2 separate regions of the Homo sapiens genome follow, and region 1 is linked to region 2. The links are contacts of gene promoters, found by promoter capture Hi-C in human tissues and cell types (Jung and others, 2019). All regions are on one chromosome and are shown on one strand. Each heading gives the region's core, a stretch centred on a gene start or on the middle of the fragment in contact. The rest is flanking DNA. Distances are from core to core; before and after follow the strand shown.

Region 1 (5,026 bases), core at 1,739-4,238, 280 kb after region 2:
ACGTATCATTTTACAGTGTTTTTTATACAATTTACCAGATAAGCCTAATCATTTACCAGACGTACCAGATAAGTCTTTGTAAGATGAGAGATACGTCCTTTGAGGCTCTCCAGAAGCTTGACTGGAAAATACTAAAGCTAATTATGGGTCAAAAAGATTTAATTTAGAATTTATATCTTGGGGAAGCCCATCAAAGATGCCAAAAGATTTAAAACGCCTGATCAAAACAGGAGCACAGGTCACTATTAGATAATAGTCATTCATTTAACCAGAATGAGAAAGACTTCAGAAGCAACACAGGGAGTTCCATGAATGTAAACAAACAACCCACTCAAAGCTCAGTTTTCCTACAAAATAAAAAACTTAATAAAGACAACACAGGAAATTATCTTGATAAAACATAAAATCTTTGTTTCGTAGGCCAGTTACCAAAAAGGTAAAGAAAAACCTCCTGTGGTGTGATTGCTTCTCCTCATGGGAAGCCCGTTTGGTTTGCCTGGAAGTAGAAGCTGATGAAAAGTACTTGAATTTAATGAGACATAGGAAGAGGGTGTCCAGTATTACGAGTGCGCACCGTATTATAGAGGAATGTCAATGTGACAGTTAGTGGCTTGAGCAGGGCAGTACAGGGCTCTAAGTCACAGTATGGGAAGTTTTCTGGTTCCATGGAACAATTCAGACACATCCAGAAAAGCCGAATGTACAGAATCGAGTTATACAGGCGGAAAACAGTGCATCAGACCATAGTAACACAGTTAAAACTGGAGAAAAAAGTTCCAGGAGCTGACAAAAAAGTTGAAGGAAAGAGTCCTTGCCCTAGCCAAGCAAGCAGCTGCAGCTTCTCAAGGGGAGAGAGTGGAAGGCAGTGATATGCGGCCAGCAGGTCACACGCAGCAAGGCCAAGCCCAAGCCGAGGCTGTCAGATTCACCTGGAGAGGAAGACCCTGCCTGGAGAAATGAAATTGCCATTCTAAATGAAGACAGCATTTCTAACCTCATACGAGGGAAATTAGATGGAGACTAAAATAGAAAAAAGCTGCAGTTCAGAAGCTTGTTTTATAAACATACTTCAGAATTAAAAATCAAAACGTCCTGCAGTTTTACTAATAGCCGATCAATACTTCAGGAAAACCCTGTTGTTCTAACATAAGCGACCACGTTTTTTGCTTTGTATTAGTGTATTTTTAATATTAAAGTTTGGTCTTTAGAAGGACTTACACATAATTTTCTTCTAATTATAACCAACTTAATCATATAAAATTTATTTCGTAAATTTATCTTTCACAGACTTTTATGACCAATATAGGCCTTCGATGACATCCTTAAGCCTTTCTGCTTTGTTCTGTACTTCCTCTTTCTTAAAACAACAGGCATTTTACTTTAGGACAAAAATTTACCACACAGGAGTCTTTGTCATACAAAATTATTCATTTTTGTTTTTAACCTTCCTTACTAAGATACATCTACATACCTATAACTTTCTTCACATCTCTCGCTCTCCTACTTAGTGGTTTCTTTCTCTTTGCTTTCTAAATCCATATTTTGAAACAAATTTTAAATAATCTCCAAACTAGACAAAATTACTCTTTTTTTCAATAAAGAACACATTTTTATTCCTCTCATAATTTTTCTCATCAGAAACATACCTTACTTTTCGTATACTTTGTATACTGAAATATATATATGTAAGAACTTTAACTCTTAGTAACTGTAATTTTTAGTGAAAACCTTGGAATCAGTATTTTATAGATGAGAACCATTTTATAATTTTTGGAAACATGTTTTCCCGTTACATAATTACTTTGTGTATTAACAGGCAAAAATATATTTAGTCCTTCTCTAAAATTTAATAAGCCAAGAACAAACTTACATTTGTGTTCAGCAATGTATGTTTTAGTACTTTATCTTATATGGAAATGACTTAGACATTTTATGAGTATCATTTAATTTAACATAGCATAACTTTAAGATTTCAGATTACATGACAGTCTATAAGCACTTTCCCATCTACGTTTATGTACTTTATTTATTTTTAATAATTATACCTAGGTTACTTATGAAAACTGAGATATAGAAAAAGCTAGTCTTCATTTCAAGTTATTTCCCTTTTCACCATTTGTATAGCCTATGAGTATCAGGTTTTCACCTGAGAAACTTAAATATAGGGGTATTTTGCTGATAACACAGAAGATACAGCAATTTTGATTAAACTAACAGTGTTAGTCTTAGTCATTAAAAAGTTATACAAATAAAGATAATTGTGTCTTTAGTCTGGATTTATACTTTTATAACCTTAAGACATCTAGTAGAGATAAATATAATCCTCTCTGACCAGTAAAGCTGGGCAAAAATGTATGCTGACAGTTTTGAAGACACTTCTATTTTTATTTTATCAACAAATTTAAAACCAACTTATTTATCCAAGATTTACTTAAGTCAGCTGGGTGTGGTGGCTCATGCCTATAATCCCAGCACTTTGGGAGGCTGAGGCAAGAGGATTGCTTGAGCCCAGGAGTTTGAGACCAGCCTGGGCAACATGGCAAGATCCCATCTCTACAAAAAATAAAAAAATTAGGCAGGTATGATGGTACACACCTGTAGTCCCAGCTACTCAAGAGGCTGAGGTGGAAGGATCACTGGAGCCCAGGAGGTTGAAGCCACAGTGAGCCATGTTTGTCCCACTGCACCCCAGCCTGGGTGACAGAGAAATAACCTATCTCAAAAAAACAAAAAACAAAAAAAACAAAAAAGATTTATTTAAGTCACACGAACTAAAAAGCATTTGGGTTAATTACTATATATTTTACATGAGTGCTTGTTTAAGCCAATCCAAATAGAATTTCTTAAGGGATTTCTGGCTAACTATGTCAGATTTTATCATGTAGATGTAACATACAATATGTATAAACATACATAAAAGCAAATACAGACACAAATAAAGATCTTATGGCTTTCATTTTAGAATTTTGGTCATGAAACAGAAAAACATAGTAATACAAATTCACTGGTTTATAAAATATAGTTGGATCAAATTATATTTTTGACAAAACGGAACTTTTATCTGTGGCTAAGTTCTGTTTACCCTGATAAGTAATTAATGAAGGCTGTGGACCAGAATTATGGATAAAGCAGTTTTCATAGCAGTTTGACTTTTAAAAACCTTTTAATCCTTTTTTCAGATTCAATTGAATTTAGGGTTGAATATTCAAATGTTTACATTTTAGCTAGGCCTGGCTAAATTGTATTAAAAAAAAACAACAAAATTTTCAGGTTGCCTTGAATTAGTAACAAATCTTTTTGTTTGTTTGCTTTTTCTGGCTCTTAAGTGTCAGACAAAATAATTTTTATGTCAGACAGAGATACCTTTTAGTATTGCTCTGAGCTTAAGGTTTTAACCTGTTTGATCTGACAGCCCTTAGCTTATATAAACATTTATAAAGTTTTTTTTTTAGAATATCGATTTTTCAATTAGCTTTTTCATCACCCTAAGCAATTGTTAGACAAACCTAAATTTACATTTCCAAAAGGTGTCTGCATCGTTGGTTGCCATAGATTTGGCATAATTTATAAAGCCATTAGTTTGAAAGCCCTTTAACACTTAAAAGAAAATCTTAGTTTCCATAAGCAATGAGTTTATCTTAATGCTGGCAGAAAAGTCATCAGATTCAAAGTTGGCAGAAAAAAGAGATGGAGAGTTAACCCTGTAGTTAGTTGCAGTTTTTGACAAGCTTAGACAGAAAATGGCTGTCCAGTGCTGCGTTTTTCCTGATGTAGTTTGCCCATCACCACACGAGAACGGACCACAGTATAGCTGGCCAGAGTCCTAGAAGACTTGGTGTGCCTCAATGTTTAAGAATCCCATTTCATTTCTTATTAATCTCTCAAGAGCAAAGAAAATCCTATAATTCCTGTCAGGGAGTTTAGACTGGTGCCTTATGTGGTGCTGACTGCCCTTGTTAATTGGCCATCCCATACCCATTATTTAGAATCTTTATTTTTGCTCTCAGATCATGGCCAGAATCAAGCAAGGGAAAAAAGAGCCAAATCATATACAGATGTGTGTAAGCAAATCAAAATAAAACAAAAAATAAGTGTGTTCACAGAAATTTTAAGCCAGGCATGCAGTCCAAACAAAACATTAAACCGGGTGTGCAGAACCAGACAGAATATAAATTCTGTAGTAACCAGAGGGACATTGTCCTTATACCAGAAGGGGCTTGCCAGAAGAGACAAAAGGTCTTTTATCATCCGAGACAGATGCAAGGTCCTTTATTAAGGTCCTTTATTAACTCAGATCCCAAATGAAGTAAAAAAGAGCTTCTAACAAAAAATGGGAGGCTTGGTTTGAGAGGAGACTTTCAAGGGCAGAAGAGGCGAGTCATGGAAGCAGAGAGCTCAAAGGGCTCAGTTGAGTGCCTCATACCAGTTCTAAGAATTGATGATTCTTTCCACAGGTGATCCTTCTCCACATCCCACTTCTGACACCATTTATGTCATCCTAAATAACAAATAGGGAGGGAGACTCTCCAAAAGAAAATGGTATTTATTCAGGAATAGGCATTGCGATGGGATACACATTATGGTAAACTATGTGCATATTCAGGGAAGTAGTGGAAGATAAAGGTTTCTAATGGAAAAATGAATATGATTACATAATCGTTTTGAGATAATTTTTCTTGGCTACAAGGATCAATAACAAGGGTGGCATGATTCTGAGGCTGGACAGGCAGTTGCTAGGCAGATGTCCTCGCAGAAGTAATTTGCGTATGTGTGTAAGGTTGTTTGGCCTTTGTGCAAGGTTGTAGTTTTCCAGTCTTTTGTAATAAGTCTTGTTATCAGGCATTTGAACCCTGCCTTCCCAACCTTCCCTAGCTCTGTTGATCAGGGTTTTTAACATAGTGACTCCGTTTTGAACCTGACAACTTTCACAAACCCAAAGAGGCCTACCAGCCATTGGCTTCTGTCTGACAGACAAGAGTTGTGAGTTAAAATAATTTGTCCCTTTCTTTGGAAGGGATGTTTGACT
Region 2 (5,298 bases), core at 1,994-4,493:
TACTACTCATTACTTCTGCTTGCATCTCCCTGGCTAGCACTTACTTAGTTATATGGCCATAGCTAGCTGAAGGAAGGACAGGGACTGTCATACACTAGCTAAGAGGCAAACTGCTTAGATAAAAAGGTCTCTAAAGAAGGTCAGAGCGGCTGCTAGGGTGCAACTCTATTACTTATTGTTATGGGACGAACTGTGTCCCTCATTCAGGTTGATGTCCTAAGCCCCAGAACCTCAGAATGGGATTGTATTTGGAGACAGGTTCTTTAAGGAGGTAAGGAGGCTAAAATGAGATCATTAGGGTGGGCCATAATCCGACTGATGTCTTACAAGAAGAGATTAGGACACGGACATGCTCAGAGGGACGGCCACGTGAGGACACCAAGAAAGGCAGCTGTCTGCAAGTCAAGGACAGGGCTCAGGGGAAACCAACCTTGCCAACACCTTCATCTCGGACTTCTAGCCTCTAGGACCATGAGAAGATACATTTCTGTTGTTTAAGCTGCCCGGTCTGTGGTACTTTGTTATGGCAGCCCAAGTAAACAAATACAGTCATCTGCTGCTGGAACAAATCACCCCAGCACTGTGGCTTGGCAGCACACATGTCTAGTCATAGAGTTATATGTAGTTACGTGTAGAGCCATATGTATCGTCACACGTTCTGTGGGTCAGGAATTTGGACCCAGCTTAACCAGCTCCACTTCTCGCCAGGGTTCAGTCAAATACCAGCTGCCTCCCACCTGAGAGCTCAGCCGGGGAAGGGTCCCTTTCCAATCTCACGTGGTGTTGGCAGGATCCAGTTCCTCATGGCCTGCTGGACTGAGAACCTCAGTTCTCACTGCCTGTTGGCCAGAGGCCGCCTTTATGTCCTCGCCATGTGGGCCTCTCCAACATGGCAGCTGACTTCATCAGAGCATCCATGCCAAGAAGGCAACAGAGAGGGCCAGGGAGACTGAAGTCATACCCTTTTGCGACCTAGTCATGGGGTGACATTCCATCACCTTTGCCCATTGGTTAGAAGCAGGCCACCAGGTACAGCCCAAGCTCACGGGGAGGGGTCATACAAGGGTGTCAATACCAGGAGGTGAGGGGTGCTGGGGCCATCTTATGAGTCTGCCCACTGAGGTAACTAACAACCTTGAGGCCTGACACAGTGGACAAAGGCCCTTATTAACAGCAGAGAACTGGGAACTTTATTTATTTATTTATTTTTGAGACAGAGTCTCACTCTTGTCACCCAGGCTGGAGTGCAATGGCATGATCTTGGCTCACTGCAACCTCCACCTCCCAGGTTCAAGCAATTCTGCCTCAGCCTCCGGAATAGCTGGGACTACAGGCATGCACCACTACACCCGGCTAATTTTTGTATTTTTAGTAGAGACAGGGTTTCGCCATGTTGGCCAGGCTGGTCTCGAACTCCTGACCTCTGGTGATCTGCCTGCCTTGGCCTCCCAAAGTGCTGGGATTACAGGCGTGAGCCACCGCACCTCGCTGGAACTTAATTTTTTTAGAGACAGTGTCGCTCTATCACCCAAGCTGGAGTGCAGTGGTGCAATCCTAGCTCACTTGCAGCCTCAAATTCCTGGGTTCAGGTGATCCTCCCACATCAGCCTCCCAAGAACTGGGAACTAACAGCTGTTTCTCTGCTGTCCTTCTCAAGAAAAGGGAGGCTACTGCTACCCCACTGGGGACAATGCTGGGTTTCCCTTTAGGACAGGCTCTGAGACAAGGCGGAGGTGCTGTTTGTGGCCACAGAGCAGGGGACTCTGGGTTGCAGGTGTGGCCTGGCTAAAGTAGGCTTTACTGGGCTCCTCTCTGCCTGCATCACCCCCCGGCTGGGCGGTTGTCTCTGAGGCCAACCTTACTCCCTGCTGGGCAGGCTGGACAGCTGCCCTCTCCGTTTGCCCCTCTACCACCCAAAAGGCAGGAGGCTCTGGAGACCAGGACCCTGCCCGCCACGGCCTGTGTCCCAGGCGTGAGGGGGTGCCCCACAGACCTCTGCTGAGCTGCTGCTGAATGACGCCCCTTGGGGGTCCTGCCGGAAGGTCAGAGCAGGGGTGCACTCCCATAAAGAAACGCCCCCAGGTCGGGACTCATTCCTGTGGGCGGCATCTTGTGGCCATAGCTGCTTCTCGCTGCACTAATCACAGTGCCTCTGTGGGCAGCAGGCGCTGACCACCCAGGCCTGCCCCAGACCCTCTCCTCCCTTCCGGGGCGCTGCGCTGGGACCGATGGGGGGCGCCAGGCCTGTGGACACCGCCCTGCAGGGGCCTCTCCAGCTCACTGGGGGTGGGGTGGGGGTCACACTTGGGGTCCTCAGGTCGTGCCGACCACGCGCATTCTCTGCGCTCTGCGCAGGAGCTCGCCCACCCTCTCCCCGTGCAGAGAGCCCCGCAGCTGGCTCCCCGCAGGGCTGTCCGGGTGAGTATGGCTCTGGCCACGGGCCAGTGTGGCGGGAGGGCAAACCCCAAGGCCACCTCGGCTCAGAGTCCACGGCCGGCTGTCGCCCCGCTCCAGGCGTCGGCGGGGGATCCTTTCCGCATGGGCCTGCGCCCGCGCTCGGCGCCCCCTCCACGGCCCCGCCCCGTCCATGGCCCCGTCCTTCATGGGCGAGCCCCTCCATGGCCCTGCCCCTCCGCGCCCCACCCCTCCCTCGCCCCACCTCTCACCTTCCTGCCCCGCCCCCAGCCTCCCCACCCCTCACCGGCCAGTCCCCTCCCCTATCCCGCTCCGCCCCTCAGCCGCCCCGCCCCTCAGCCGGCCTGCCTAATGTCCCCGTCCCCAGCATCGCCCCGCCCCGCCCCCGTCTCGCCCCGCCCCTCAGGCGGCCTCCCTGCTGTGCCCCGCCCCGGCCTCGCCACGCCCCTACCTCACCACGCCCCCCGCATCGCCACGCCCCCCGCATCGCCACGCCTCCCTTACCATGCAGTCCCGCCCCGTCCCTTCCTCGTCCCGCCTCGCCGCGACACTTCACACACAGCTTCGCCTCACCCCATTACAGTCTCACCACGCCCCGTCCCCTCTCCGTTGAGCCCCGCGCCTTCGCCCGGGTGGGGCGCTGCGCTGTCAGCGGCCTTGCTGTGTGAGGCAGAACCTGCGGGGGCAGGGGCGGGCTGGTTCCCTGGCCAGCCATTGGCAGAGTCCGCAGGCTAGGGCTGTCAATCATGCTGGCCGGCGTGGCCCCGCCTCCGCCGGCGCGGCCCCGCCTCCGCCGGCGCAGCGTCTGGGACGCAAGGCGCCGTGGGGGCTGCCGGGACGGGTCCAAGATGGACGGCCGCTCAGGTTCTGCTTTTACCTGCGGCCCAGAGCCCCATTCATTGCCCCGGTGCTGAGCGGCGCCGCGAGTCGGCCCGAGGCCTCCGGGGACTGCCGTGCCGGGCGGGAGACCGCCATGGCGACCCTGGAAAAGCTGATGAAGGCCTTCGAGTCCCTCAAGTCCTTCCAGCAGCAGCAGCAGCAGCAGCAGCAGCAGCAGCAGCAGCAGCAGCAGCAGCAGCAGCAACAGCCGCCACCGCCGCCGCCGCCGCCGCCGCCTCCTCAGCTTCCTCAGCCGCCGCCGCAGGCACAGCCGCTGCTGCCTCAGCCGCAGCCGCCCCCGCCGCCGCCCCCGCCGCCACCCGGCCCGGCTGTGGCTGAGGAGCCGCTGCACCGACCGTGAGTTTGGGCCCGCTGCAGCTCCCTGTCCCGGCGGGTCCCAGGCTACGGCGGGGATGGCGGTAACCCTGCAGCCTGCGGGCCGGCGACACGAACCCCCGGCCCCGCAGAGACAGAGTGACCCAGCAACCCAGAGCCCATGAGGGACACCCGCCCCCTCCTGGGGCGAGGCCTTCCCCCACTTCAGCCCCGCTCCCTCACTTGGGTCTTCCCTTGTCCTCTCGCGAGGGGAGGCAGAGCCTTGTTGGGGCCTGTCCTGAATTCACCGAGGGGAGTCACGGCCTCAGCCCTCTCGCCCTTCGCAGGATGCGAAGAGTTGGGGCGAGAACTTGTTTCTTTTTATTTGCGAGAAACCAGGGCGGGGGTTCTTTTAACTGCGTTGTGAAGAGAACTTGGAGGAGCCGAGATTTGCTCAGTGCCACTTCCCTCTTCTAGTCTGAGAGGGAAGAGGGCTGGGGGCGCGGGACACTTCGAGAGGAGGCGGGGTTTGGAGCTGGAGAGATGTGGGGGCAGTGGATGACATAATGCTTTTAGGACGCCTCGGCGGGAGTGGCGGGGCAGGGGGGGGGCGGGGAGTGAGGGCGCGTCCAATGGGAGATTTCTTTTCCTAGTGGCACTTAAAACAGCCTGAGATTTGAGGCTCTTCCTACATTGTCAGGACATTTCATTTAGTTCATGATCACGGTGGTAGTAACACGATTTTAAGCACCACCTAAGAGATCTGCTCATCTAAGCCTAAGTTGGTCTGCAGGCGTTTGAATGAGTTGTGGTTGCCAAGTAAAGTGGTGAACTTACGTGGTGATTAATGAAATTATCTTAAATATTAGGAAGAGTTGATTGAAGTTTTTTGCCTATGTGTGTTGGGAATAAAACCAACACGTTGCTGATGGGGAGGTTAATTGCCGAGGGATGAATGAGGTGTACATTTTACCAGTATTCCAGTCAGGCTTGCCAGAATACGGGGGGTCCGCAGACTCCGTGGGCATCTCAGATGTGCCAGTGAAAGGGTTTCTGTTTGCTTCATTGCTGACAGCTTGTTACTTTTTGGAAGCTAGGGGTTTCTGTTGCTTGTTCTTGGGGAGAATTTTTGAAACAGGAAAAGAGAGACCATTAAAACATCTAGCGGAACCCCAGGACTTTCCCTGGAAGTCTGTGTGTCGAGTGTACAGTAGGAGTTAGGAAGTACTCTGGTGCAGTTCAGGCCTTTCTCTTACCTCTCAGTATTCTATTTCCGATCTGGATGTGTCCCAGATGGCATTTGGTAAGAATATCTCTGTTAAGACTGATTAATTTTTAGTAATATTTCTTGTTCTTTGTTTCTGTTATGATCCTTGTCTCGTCTTCAAAGTTTAATTAGAAAATGATTCGGAGAGCAGTGTTAGCTTATTTGTTGGAATAAAATTTAGGAATAAATTATTCTAAAGGATGGAAAAACTTTTTGGATATTTGGAGAAATTTTAAAACAATTTGGCTTATCTCTTCAGTAAGTAATTTCTCATCCAGAAATTTACTGTAGTGCTTTTCTAGGAGGTAGGTGTCATAAAAGTTCACACATTGCATGTATCTTGTGTAAACACTAAACAGGGCTCCTGATGGGAAGGAAGACCTTTCTGCTGGGCTGCTTCAGACACTTGATCATTCTAAAAA

The links. Contacts are between HindIII fragments. The study calls those that stand out against the background at their distance.
Region 1: a fragment that was not itself captured here is called in contact with the fragment with the promoter of HTT in region 2 in 1 of the 25 tissues and cell types used here (dorsolateral prefrontal cortex).

What each region holds. Positions count from the first base shown.
Region 1 is chr4:3,347,962-3,352,987 of GRCh38, forward strand. All of the region lies in intron 3 of RGS12 (regulator of G protein signaling 12), which reads left to right. Among named protein-coding and RNA genes, the nearest start is that of RGS12, 57 kb to the left of the region's middle. The HindIII fragment of the contact is 4,811 bases long and covers 584-5,026 here.
Region 2 is chr4:3,071,438-3,076,735 of GRCh38, forward strand. It overlaps HTT (huntingtin), which reads left to right and starts at 3,244. Exons shown (of 67, transcript NM_001388492.1): 1 at 3,244-3,651. The coding sequence starts at 3,389. It also overlaps HTT-AS. RefSeq lists silencers at 2,300-2,919, 3,070-3,509, 3,620-3,689 and enhancers at 3,850-4,079, 4,090-4,139. The HindIII fragment of the contact is 13,196 bases long and covers 1-5,298 here.